3 separate regions of the Homo sapiens genome follow, and regions 2 and 3 are each linked to region 1. The links are contacts of gene promoters, found by promoter capture Hi-C in blood cells and fetal thymus (Javierre and others, 2016). All regions are on one chromosome and are shown on one strand. The core of a region is centred on a gene start or on the middle of the fragment in contact, and the rest is flanking DNA. Distances in the headings are between cores, read along the strand shown. Region 1 has its middle 11 kb from the start of VEGFA. Region 2 holds the start of CAPN11 (calpain 11). Region 3 holds the start of SLC29A1 (solute carrier family 29 member 1 (Augustine blood group)).

What was found. Contacts are between HindIII fragments. The CHiCAGO score rates a contact against its expected background, and 5 or more counts as called.
Region 2: a contact is called between the fragment with the promoter of CAPN11 here and a fragment that was not itself captured in region 1, in 13 of 17 cell types (naive CD8 T cells, activated CD4 T cells, naive CD4 T cells and 10 more). The highest score is 9.9, in naive CD8 T cells.
Region 3: the fragment with the promoter of SLC29A1 here is called in contact with a fragment that was not itself captured in region 1 in 2 of 17 cell types (erythroblasts and total CD4 T cells); the score reaches 7.5 in erythroblasts.

Annotation. Positions count from the first base shown.
Region 1 is chr6:43,756,826-43,760,727 of GRCh38, forward strand. No RefSeq gene overlaps it. Among named protein-coding and RNA genes, the nearest start is that of VEGFA, 11 kb to the right of the region's middle. RefSeq lists enhancers at 1,568-2,104, 1,720-1,779, 3,460-3,902. The HindIII fragment of the contact is 9,019 bases long and covers 1-3,902 here.
Region 2 is chr6:44,157,127-44,160,678 of GRCh38, forward strand. It overlaps CAPN11 (calpain 11), which reads left to right and starts at 1,694. Exons shown (of 23, transcript NM_007058.4): 1 at 1,694-1,738. The coding sequence starts at 1,723. It overlaps LOC107986599 (a long non-coding RNA gene), which reads right to left and starts at 1,477. Exons shown (of 3, transcript XR_002956350.2): 1 at 1,459-1,477. RefSeq lists an enhancer at 2,871-3,040. The HindIII fragment of the contact is 9,288 bases long and covers 1-3,552 here.
Region 3 is chr6:44,221,303-44,224,844 of GRCh38, forward strand. It overlaps SLC29A1 (solute carrier family 29 member 1 (Augustine blood group)), which reads left to right and starts at 2,293. Exons shown (of 13, transcript NM_001372327.1): 1 at 2,293-2,339. RefSeq lists enhancers at 2,122-2,980, 3,223-3,372 and a silencer at 2,133-2,532. The HindIII fragment of the contact is 15,932 bases long and covers 1-3,542 here.

The DNA.
Region 1 (3,902 bases), core at 200-2,699:
AAACTCCTGACCTCAGGTGATCCACCTGCCTCGGCCTCCCAAAGTGCTGGGACTACAGGCGTGAACCCCTGCGCCCGGTCACCATTATTATTTTCATTCATAAAGAGTTTACAAGTAAACTGGGCATGGTGGCTCACACCTGTAATCCCGGCACTTTGGGAGGCCAACACAGGCAGATTGCTTGAGCCCCGGGGTTGGAGACCAACCTGGGCAAAATGGCTAAACCTTGTCTCTGCAAAACAAACAAACAAAATCACAAAAATTCGCCAGGCATAGAGGCACATGCCTGTGGTCCCAGCTACCCAGGCAGCTGAGGTGCCCAGGAGGTCGAAGCTGCAGTAAGCTGAGATCATGCCACTGCGCTCCAGCCTGGTAAACAGGGCAAGACCCTGTCTCAAAAAACAAAAATAAAAACAAAAACAAAAAAAAAGAAAAGAAGTCTACATGTGGATGTCTATACCTGCAGGCCTGTATTAGTCCTTAGGCTTGTATGGGGTAAGAGATCACTGAAAAATACACTCTCTCTGTGAATGCACTTGGAGAAAGATAACACACACACACACACACACACACACACACACCCCTTTACAAAATTAAATACATCAGACAGCATTTGAGGCTGGATGAAGAGGTATAGACAGCTCATGCTGTAGGAGTTTAGGGGAGACTGCTGAGCAGAAGTGGTCTAAGAAGGCTTCATGTTTTAAGAGGCAAATCTTCACGGCTGGCACTGTATAGACCAGGATGAAGAAATGAGCAACCTGTGCTTGGGGCTGTCAGAAGACCTGGCTGGCTGGAGTGGGATGGATGTGTAAGGGGGCAGGGGAAAGAAGGGGCCACACACAATCATATTATGAATAATAATGGGAATAGAAACTACCATTTGTTTGGTTCCTGCTATGCACAGGCCAGGTGCTCTTGCTACACCCTTTCCATATATTATCTCATTCAATCCTCACAAGAACCCTGTATAGGTATTATTAGCATGGGTTTTCAAGGAAACTCAGGTTTAGAGAGGTTGCATGACTTGCCCAGGGACAGATAGCTAGAAGTGGGGAGATCCACAATCTGAATGAACAAATTACACGCACAGACACTGTCACAGACAGGCACACACACACAGAGCCCAGGCGCGGCCAAGACAGTTGTCTGTTTCACCTCATCTGTGGCCCCACTCTCCTTTAGTTGAGTTAGGTGCTAGTTCTTTCCTTTGAGGGGTCCAGTGTGAAAAAGTGACCCTACTCCTCACCCCAACTCTGTCTTAAATGTCCCTGCAGCTTTAGTCCCCAGGCAGGCTCCCAAGAGGGCGGGGCCTGGTGCAGTGTTTAAGGAGGTACTCACTCTTAGGGCCTGCGCTGCACCTGCACGACCCTTATAAGAGTGAGCAGCTCCTTACTCCTTACATTTGGTCCTCGCCTAGCTGCCTCGCTTGCCTCTCCCTAGTTCTGACCCTGGATGGGGCGAGGGTAGTGGTGCTTTGCAATGTGAGCCAAGAAGTCTCTTTCTCTTCCAAGGTCAGGCAGAGATTCCTGAGGCTGAAGCCATTGCTCTCCTTTCTGTACTCAAATGAACAGTGTATTTCAGCATATTATCTGAATATTACTCAGATAATATTTCCACCACTCAAACCTACCCTTCTTCAGGGTCCTCCACAGTCCAGCCTACCTTTCTGTCCCTGAATCCTCCAAGCAGTCCCCGTCCCAGCCCTGGCTCATACCTCATACTTCTCTGCTCCTAGAGGGTGAGTCTGGATAGACAGCCTCCGGCGTGGTGCCCCCTCCTCAGGGACCAGGGGCCTGTGCAGAAAGCCTCCTGGGCATGCCCCAGAGGCTGGGAAGTCCAGCACTGCTCTCCCTCGCCCTCTAGAGGCTCGGGGTGGCACTAGGTGAGGTACCTGGGAGGGGTCCTGACTGAGGAGGGGGCCCTGGGCTTCCAGAGAATGTCTGGAGTGTGGCCACGGTTGGGCAACAGCTACATCTGAAGCCCACTGATGGAAGGTGCCCAGCAAGGTTGTTCTGTCGTCTCAGGCAGAAGGGGGTTCAAGGCCGCCCACCTCTGTCTGGGTGTTGCGGGTCTTCCCTCCTGTGGGCCAGAGAAGGGGCTCCCTAACCCGCACCCAGCCAGGCCAGTGGGACAGCCCCTCTCCAACTCCTACCTCCCTCTTGGGCAGCTTCGAGGAGCCTGGAGGCTGCCCCTGCCAGCCCTGGGGGACTGTGGCCCCGTTCTAGAGAGCCAGACATCCCTGAGGACCTTTAGGACAGGAGGGGAGGAAGTGTGAGGAGCTGTGTCCCAAGGTGGCTGTGATCGGGGTTGATGTAGGCAGAACCTGGGAGACGGTGGAAGAAATCTTCAACTCCTGGTAGGGAAGGACACATAGAAAAAGGTGAGGATGGTGGTGTGGAGACAGCCTGGGGGAGAGGCCAGAGTGGACAGAGGCTGTGGAATCACTTAACAAACCTTTCTGGGCGGGGAGACTCGGTGCTGGGGTGTGGGCCTCCAGAGGGGAGTAAGCAGGGCAGACCCACCCTTCCTCATAATACATATGCATAAGCTCATTTGCATAACAACACACCTGCTCACCTGGCCCCCATCGAAGTAACTGGCCTTGCCTCAAATGGTCCATTATTTTTGACTAAAGTATGGGGAAAGGGGACCCATTCTCTTGCTCATCCTTTTCCTTATCTCCCAGATTCCTGGGTTTGGAAGAGAAGGAGGAGTAACTGTGGAATGAGTCACAGAATTATTCCACCTGCCCCAGGGCCAGGCCACGAGTAGAGCGAGGATAGATGTCTCCCTAGAGCCTTACCTGCTGCCCCTGGGGAGGTCTGGGGCTTCCACCCAGAGGAAGAGCAGGGGTGGTCTGGGCAGCCCAGGAGTCTGGGGGAAGGAAGCAAGCACCCTTACTCCTCATGATCTCTGTCCTGTTACCCTCCCCAGTGCCTGGGGCCAGGGCTAGGTGTGTGTTATCTCACCTCAAACAGTGGCTCTGGGCTCCCCTGCCCAAGCTAATGTCATAGTGGAGGCCTCAGGCCCTGCACCAACATGGTTCCGTAGTCCCTGGAGTCAGGCTGGGGGAGCCCAGGGCTGAGGCTCCCTTTCATCCCCTCCCACCAGGAAAGGGTCTTTCTCGGTATTTCCCACAAACACTCATATCACCACTTGACAGCCTTTTCATTCCATTCTCCCGCCTCTCTCAGCCCCACCACACCCCTGACACATTCCTTCCCCCACTTCAGCTCCTGGATCGCAGGCAGGGGCACCCTGCCTATCCCCTCTCCCAAAGCGGGTGCCTGGGAGCTGACATCTTGGCTCACCTTCTCCTCCTTTGTCTTCTCTTCCTTTCCCCCACTCCCCAGCATTTCATCCAAGCCAGAAATGGGCCTAGAAGTCTGTAGAAAGACATCCCGCTGCTATCACTCCACAAATCCTCTAGAGAAGATGAGTTTGGTAGACCTCTGCTTATCTGATTTAAATTCTTCTTGCTGTAATCTCAGCTGTTCTGGTTGGTGGCAATGGGCAAACTCAGGATGTTGGTCAGACAATGGACTGAAGAGTTTACTTTTCTCTGCTTCCCTGCCCAACTGTACTTGAGTAATCTTTATAGTATCTCTAAAAGATGGTCCTGGAATGGTGCTCCCTGGTCCTTCCCTGTCTCTTGCAGTCGGCCAGGACACAGGCGGGAGTATCCACAGCTCTCATTTTACAGCTTCCTTCCCGTTCCCTACAGCAATAGAGGGGGAGCCCTAACGGGGTTTTAGCAATCAGTCCAGCCCCTTCAGTCTGGAAAGGAGGACACTGAGGCAGGGATGGGCGGTGCCTTGCTCCAGGCCACACAACAAGGCAGTGACAGTGGCTGCGTTTGAACCCAGGTGTCCTAACCTCCAGGACCCACACATGGCAAT
Region 2 (3,552 bases), core at 444-2,943, 400 kb after region 1:
AGATAATGCCCAAGCAGCACACTGAGCAAGAGTCCTGAGGACAGCCCTCCCCCAGGGTGGGAGGCTGTAATAGAGAGGAACACCCGTGCCTGCCTGCACCCTACCCCTGGCACCTCGTCACAGAGTTCATGTCCAGGCAGATCACATTAGAGGCATCCAAGAGGTGCAATAGTGGAATCAGGAGTGGGCAGGGGAGACCACAGGATCCCCAAAGACCACTTCCTCCTTTCACAGCTGGGGGCAGCAGAAGATACGGATAAGAGCTAAAGTTATGGCCGGGCACGGTGGCTTATGCCTATAATCCTAGCGCTTTGGGAGGCCGAAGCGAGTGATCACCTGAGGTCAGGAGTTCGAGACCAGCCTGCCCAACATGGCGAAACCCCGTCTCTACTAAAAATACAAAAATTAGCTGGGCATGGTGGTGGGCACCTGTAATCCCAGCTACTTGAGAGGCTGAGGCAGGAGAATCGCTTGAACCCGGGGGGCAGAGGTTGCAGTGAGCTGAGATTGCACCACTTCACTCCAGCCTGGGCAAAAGAGCGAGACTCCATCTCAAAAAAAAAAAAAAAAAAAAAAATCTGAAGTTATTAGTTTAAATCCTGGCTCGACCGCTTAACAGCTGTGTGACCCTGGGCAAGTTGCATCATACCTCTAGACCTCACTTTCCTCATCTATAAAATGGGAATAGCAATGTCATGGCCTCTGGCTGTTTTAAGGATTAAATAAGTAGGAAGTTCTTAGCCCAGTGTTTGGCACATAATAACAAACCATAATTAATATTCTCGTAGATGAGGAGATTGAGTCCCAGAAAGGAGAAAGGGGGAGGGCTCGCCCAAGGTCAGCTCCTGTTTCAGAGCTTGGAACAAGGTTCTCTGATCCCATTGGGTGCTCTCACACCTGTTCTGTGCCTGATTAGCACCAGGCAGGGCTGAGGGGCACTGGGATGACCTTGACAGTCCCTGTCCTCAGCCATCATACACTCCAGAGAAGACTGCACTCTGGAGCAGAGTTCTTAGCTCAAAGCATTCCCACTTTCCAGTGCAGAGGCAGGACATGTGGTCAGACCAGTGGCCTAACCTTGCCAGACTGGGGCTAGGCAAGGAGAGTGTTGCAGGTGGAATCGTGTCCCCCAAAAAGGCATGTTGAAGTCCTGGCCCCCAGTACTTCAGAATGTGACCTCATTTGGAAACAGGGTGGTTGCAGATGTAATTCGTTCAATTAAGATGAGGTCATACTGAAATGCATGGGACCCTAGCCCCATATGACTGGTGTCCTTATAAGAAGAAGAGACACAGAGGAGGGTGCCATGTGAAGACAGCAACACAGGAAAAATGCCATGTCAGTGAGAAAGGGGCTTTTGGGAATGAGAAGGCTTTCTGGATGTAAAGGTCAGGTTGGTGTGTCAGGGACAACCCCTTCCTGGAAACCTTGGGCTGAAAAAAAGGGACTGGGACCTACCCTGATGGGATGACCGTGATACAGTGAGGACAGCCAGGCTGGTGGAGGCTGTGCAAGGCAGGGGTGCTGGGTCATCTGTCCCTAAAGCGGGTAGCCCTCAGCTGGGTAAGGGGCTGGGTTACTGAGAAGGAGAAAAGGGAAGGCAGCTGTTAAACCGGCTGCTGACCTAGGAATCCCACTGCAATGAGAGAGTTCTGGGGGGAGGGTCTCTTCTCCCCCTCCCACCAGAACCTTCAACTGTCAAGCACCGAGCTAGCCACCAGCATGCTGTACTCCCCAGGTAGGCACTCATGGGGCCTTGCCCCACTCCTGTACCTCCTGCAGGCTAGAGCCTCCCCCCAGGGGAGGAGCTGTGTCCCGCATCAGACTGGGTGCCCCTTGAGGGTACAGAGAGTGACTCTTCCATCAGACTGGATGCCCCTTGAGGGTACAGAGAGTGACTCTTCCATCAGACTGGATGCTCCCTAAGGACAGGACCTGGGCCTCGTTCTCAGACTGTTTGGGGAAGGATAGGCCACTGGTGGTCAGACTGGGTGGTAGGCCGGGCAGGAACTCTTTCTCCTCTCCACTGACAGTTGGAGTTGGGGAGAGGAGAGGGGCCGGCCATCCCACTGTCATGGCTGCTGGGGAAAAGGGTTTGTGTGAAAAAGCCCACGTAGAGAAGAAAACTTTAGGGAACAGAGAGAACCTCTCCTAAGCCTAGAAAAGCAGGTCCCTCAGCCCAGGAAGATGAGATCCTCAGGGTGGCAGGGGCAGGACTACCTGAGGCAAGCCTGGGACCAGACTCCAGGAGATGGGGGAGAGTGGGCTGGGGGGAAGGGGAGGGCTGGGCAGAACTGAGTTGTTCCTGTGGGGCTAGGGTGCACAGAGGGCAGCCAGCCTTGGCCAGCAGAAGGTCAGCCCTGTACCTCACCCTCAGCCTGGGGCACCGTGAGACCATGGGCCCCTAGACCCAGCCTCCCAGCTTCTCAGGCCCTCCCTGTTTACCTGACCCTAGGAAGTTTAGGCCTAGCTGGTGACCCCAAACCCAGTCCTTGTTCTTCAGAAGTGCCCTGAGCCCAGGAGTTCAAGACCAGCCTGGTCAGCATAGCAAGACCTCATCTCAAAATATAATTTATTTATTTATTATTATTACTTATTAGTATTTATTTTTTTTTAAAGTTCCCTGACACAACATCTTAGTTTTTTCCCAGTGCCGGAAATCAAACTGTCCTTAAATCTATAGTCCCCTAATAACAATGTATTGCATTTAGAAAATCACTGAGAGAGGCCAGGCACAGTGGTTCACGCCTGTAATCCTAGCACTCTGGGAGGCCAAGGCAGGTGGATCATCTGAGGTCAGGAGTTCGAGACCAGCCTGGCCAACATAGTGAAACCGTGTCTCTACTAAAATACAAAAATTAGCCATGCGTGGTGGCGGGCGCCTGTAATCCCAGCTACTCGGGAGGCTGAGGCAGGAGAATCTCTTGAACCCAGCAAGTGGAGGTTGCAGTGAGCCGAGATCGTGCCACCGCACCCCAAGCCTGGGCGACACAGCGAGACTCCATCTCAAAAAAAAAAGAAAATCACTGACAGTAGATTTTAAGTGTTCTCACCACAAACAAATAACAAGTATGTGCAGTAATGCAGATATTAATTAGCTCAACTGAGCCATTCCACAGTGAATACATATTTCAAAACACCATGTCGTATACAACAGATATATACTTTTTTTGTCAATAAAATAAAACTGATTTAGTTAAAAACGATCTGGCCGGGCGCAGTGGCTCACGCCTGTAATCCCAGCACTTTGGGAGGCCGTGGCGGGCAGATCACGAAGTCAGGAGATCGGGACCATCTTGGCTAACGCGGTGAAACCCTGTCTCTACTAAAAATACAAAAAATAAGCCAGGCGTGGTGGCGGGCGCCTGTAGTCCCAGCTACTCGGGAGGCTGAGGCAGGAGAATAGCGTGAACCCAGAAGGTGGAGCTTGCAGTGAGCCAAGATCGCTCCACTGCACTCCAGCCTGGGCGACAGAGTGAGACTCCGCCTCAAAAAAAACCTCAAAAAACAACAACAACAACAACAACAAAATGATCTGTAGGTTCTCAGTCT
Region 3 (3,542 bases), core at 1,043-3,542, 470 kb after region 1:
CAAACACAACTGAGAACACAGACAGTCATGAGACATGTGCTGGTTACCAACCCCCAGGCCAAGCAAACACACTTCCAGCAAACACACATGACTTGTTGGTGACAGCTGAGAGGACACATGCCTGGGGAGAGAGAGGACTGTGTGTGAGGTGGTGAGGCATGCATGGGGCCTGCCAAGTTGGGGAGGGAGTCTGGGCCAAGCCACGGTCCCATATAGGGTGGTGAATAAGGTGTAGAGTAGAGGTGCAGCAGGACCAACCCTTCCCACCCCACCCCTTCGACAGGGACCTGAGGGAGCTCAGGGAGGGAGAGAAGCCAGAAGACCAGGCAGAGACTGAAGAGAGCTGGCAAGGCCTGGCTAGAAAAACTCCAGGCAAGGCCTGTGTAAGTTGGGGCTCCCAGGCTGTCCAGCAGGGGGCCCTGGCACCCAGCAACCTCTGCTTGGGAGGTGGCTACAGAGGGGTGTGGGTGTTGGCTAGGGGCCCAGCAGGATGGATGCCAGACGGACTTCTCTCCAACAATAACAGCCCTGGCTGTTGCCATCCACCGAGCTGGCAGGGCCCCAGTTTGGGTGGGGAGAGGAACCAGCCTTTCCCAGTCTGGCCTGAGACCCTCACCACTTCCCTCCAGTTTTCTTCCACCTCCAGCCCCCTCTGTACACAACTGCAGCCACTGGCCACCAGCCTTGCCATGCCTGGCAGATCTTCTGACCACTAGCCCTGCCACCCCCACAGACCCAGAGACCAGGAAAGGAGGGTGGGGAGCGAGGAAGGGGGCCAAGGCAGAGGGCAGAGGAGGGCTAGGAGAGGAAGAGAGAGAGACTGGACAAACATGAGGGCAGGAATTAGGGGGTTGTGGACAGACATGAAGCCACTCTCAAGTCATGGGGCTGTGCCTGGAAAAATACCACCTAAACCCATCTTCCTGCCCTCTGGTTAGGGCTGGCGGGGATGTGGGGGATGGGGGTGGGGTGGGGGAGGGTTGGGAAGGAATATGTGTGTCATCTCTGTGGGGCATGGAAACAGAAGGCTGGGGACACCCATTCTGGAGTAGCTTGGGGAGAGCCACTGACCCTAATTAGAAAAGCCACCTCTCTCCTTAGGGCCCTGTCTGTTTCTCTGGGGACAGGGTAGGACTACCTTATCCCTATGATGTGAGGTACTGCCAGTTGTTAATCAGTGTCTGTGGCTTCTCTAGGGGACAAGCCCTTCGGGTCAGTGGGCATGGGGTGGGCAGCGTGGGTTGGATTTTCTCCTCAGGACCTTTCCAGCCTTAGGATCATCCTCTAGCACTGAGTACTGCTGGAAGGGCAGGGAGTGCCCCCCACCCCACCCCATTTATTGCCCGACCAAAGAGAGGGCCTCCCTCCCCCTCCCTTGGAGGGACTTGCTGGACCACCCCTCAGCACGCCCACACCTTCCTCCTTAGCTAGTGAAAGACATACTCAGCAAGGCTTCCGCCTGTCAGGATGGCTGGGACAATAGGATTCACTGAGGATATAAGGCTGTTCCTAGCTTTTTCTCTTCCCATTCCCACCTGTGCCTCAGTTTTCCAAAGTGCTGGATTTAGAAAGGGTGAATTATGAGGGAGCTGGAGGGCTTTGCCCCACCCCCCTCCGCGCGCACACGCAAGCACAGGCAGAGGCACATACCCCCTCCAAGTCAAAGTTGTGAGTGGGGTGGTGTTTGCGCGTCTGTGGCTGGGACTGGATGTGTCAGGGATGGGAAAACCCATCATGCTGGTCACAGAAAATGCGCGGTGGGGACAGAAGCAGTTTTGAAGGAAAAGAAGAGGAGGGGGACTGAAAGAAAGAAGGGGGCGCTGAAAGGGAGGGCGCTGGGAGGAAAAAGGTGCAGTGTGGAGGAAGCGCGGCGTGGGCAGGGCTTGGGAAGGGATAACGGAATATCTGAGGTGGAGTGGGCCGTGGAGCGTCGGGGCCGGTCTGAGCAGCGGGTGTGTAAATGGAACAGTCCCGAGATGAATTTTATGGGAGTCTGCGCAGGTCCTTAATGTGTGGCTGTACCCTCCAGCCCCATGTACCCCACACGATGGACAGACAGCCTTGGTGTGGCAGGGCCCAAAGAGGTCCTATCTACCGCAATAACACGACCAGGCGGCCCTGGGGGCGCAGGGGCTCGGGGTGGGAGCGGCGGAGCGCGCGGAGTCGCCGCGGGGTGGCAGGGGTGGGCCGGGGGCGGGGCCGCGGGCGTCGGGGAGGTGGCAGTGGGCGCAGGGCGGGGCGAGCTCAGCGGAGGGCGGGTTTGAATGTGCCCCGGCGGGAGAGGGAAGCTGCAGCGAGAGCGCGCGGATCTCAGCGCGGGAGCAGTGCTTCTGCGGCAGGTGCTGCCCGGGGCCGGGGACTGGGGACTGGGGACTGCCGGGGCGGAAGACGCCGCTGCCCGCCTGCCACGGAGGGCAGGGAGGGCGGGCCTGACGGCTCCGCAGCCCGGAGAAGGGACGCCGGGTGGGGCCCCAGTGCGGAGCGTGCGGAGCCGCGCAGCACGTGGCGCGCACGGGCCAGGGAGCCTGAGGACCCTGCGGGGACCGGGACCCAAGCTGGGCGGGGCGGCCTGGCTCCCGGGCCTAAAACAGGCTGCGGTCACGTTGACCTCCGCAAGGGGCAGGCGAGTGGACGGGTGATCCCCATCGATCTGGTCGGTATCAGGGAGGGGCCGTGCCGCTGACTGCGCTGGCGGAGGGGTATGGGGATGGGGATGGGGATGGAGGCTCGCGAGCGGAGGTGCAGGCTCGCGAGCGGAGGTGCGGGGCTGTCTCTTTAACCCCGGTCTTTTACTGGCTAAACTCGTATCCCTGGCGTCTCCTTCCTGCGCACGTCTTCATTTACTGATTTACTGTGAGGGTATATGAGAGGGTGAAGACAAACAGTCCTCGGCTTTGCTTACCAGGAGAGAGCAGTCGTAGGTCAAGGCTGGCTCCAACCCTGCCCTCACACCTCTAGGGGTCTCTCTGCAGCCCTGTGGTAGTCCCTTTGCCTACTCCTCTCGGTGGCCTCCAGACCCTCCAACTTTCCTCCTGCTTGTGTAAGCTCCCCATGCCAGGATGTGTGTGATGGGGCGGGGCTGAGCTGCCTGACACTCAAGTCAGGCTGGGAATGATCTTGGTCTCCACCTCATTTTTCCCTTTAGTTGAATCAGAGTTCCCCCCACCTCCCAGTCTACAGGGCTAACTGAGAAGCAGCTTTTATACCTCTCTCCATTCCAAAAGGAGCTTGAACATTTAATATGGATTCTAGCTCCTCCACTCACCAGCTCTGTGACTTCAGGCAAGTGACTCAACCCCTCTGAACCTCAGCTGGCCCCATCTATTCAGTGCTAGTACTAGCTTATGGGTGGTTGTGAAGAAAAGACAAGAGATCTGCAGGTAGTGGCTAGCCCCATATGAAATCCTGGGAGTGGAGAATTGCAGGAGAGGTGTTGGGAGTCTGGAGGCAGGGAGGTACTCAATTTGGTGGCTACTTTCAGGGGCCCACCTCAGCAGGCCAAGGCATAGTTGGAGGGACACCAGATGCTCTGAGCTGGTATC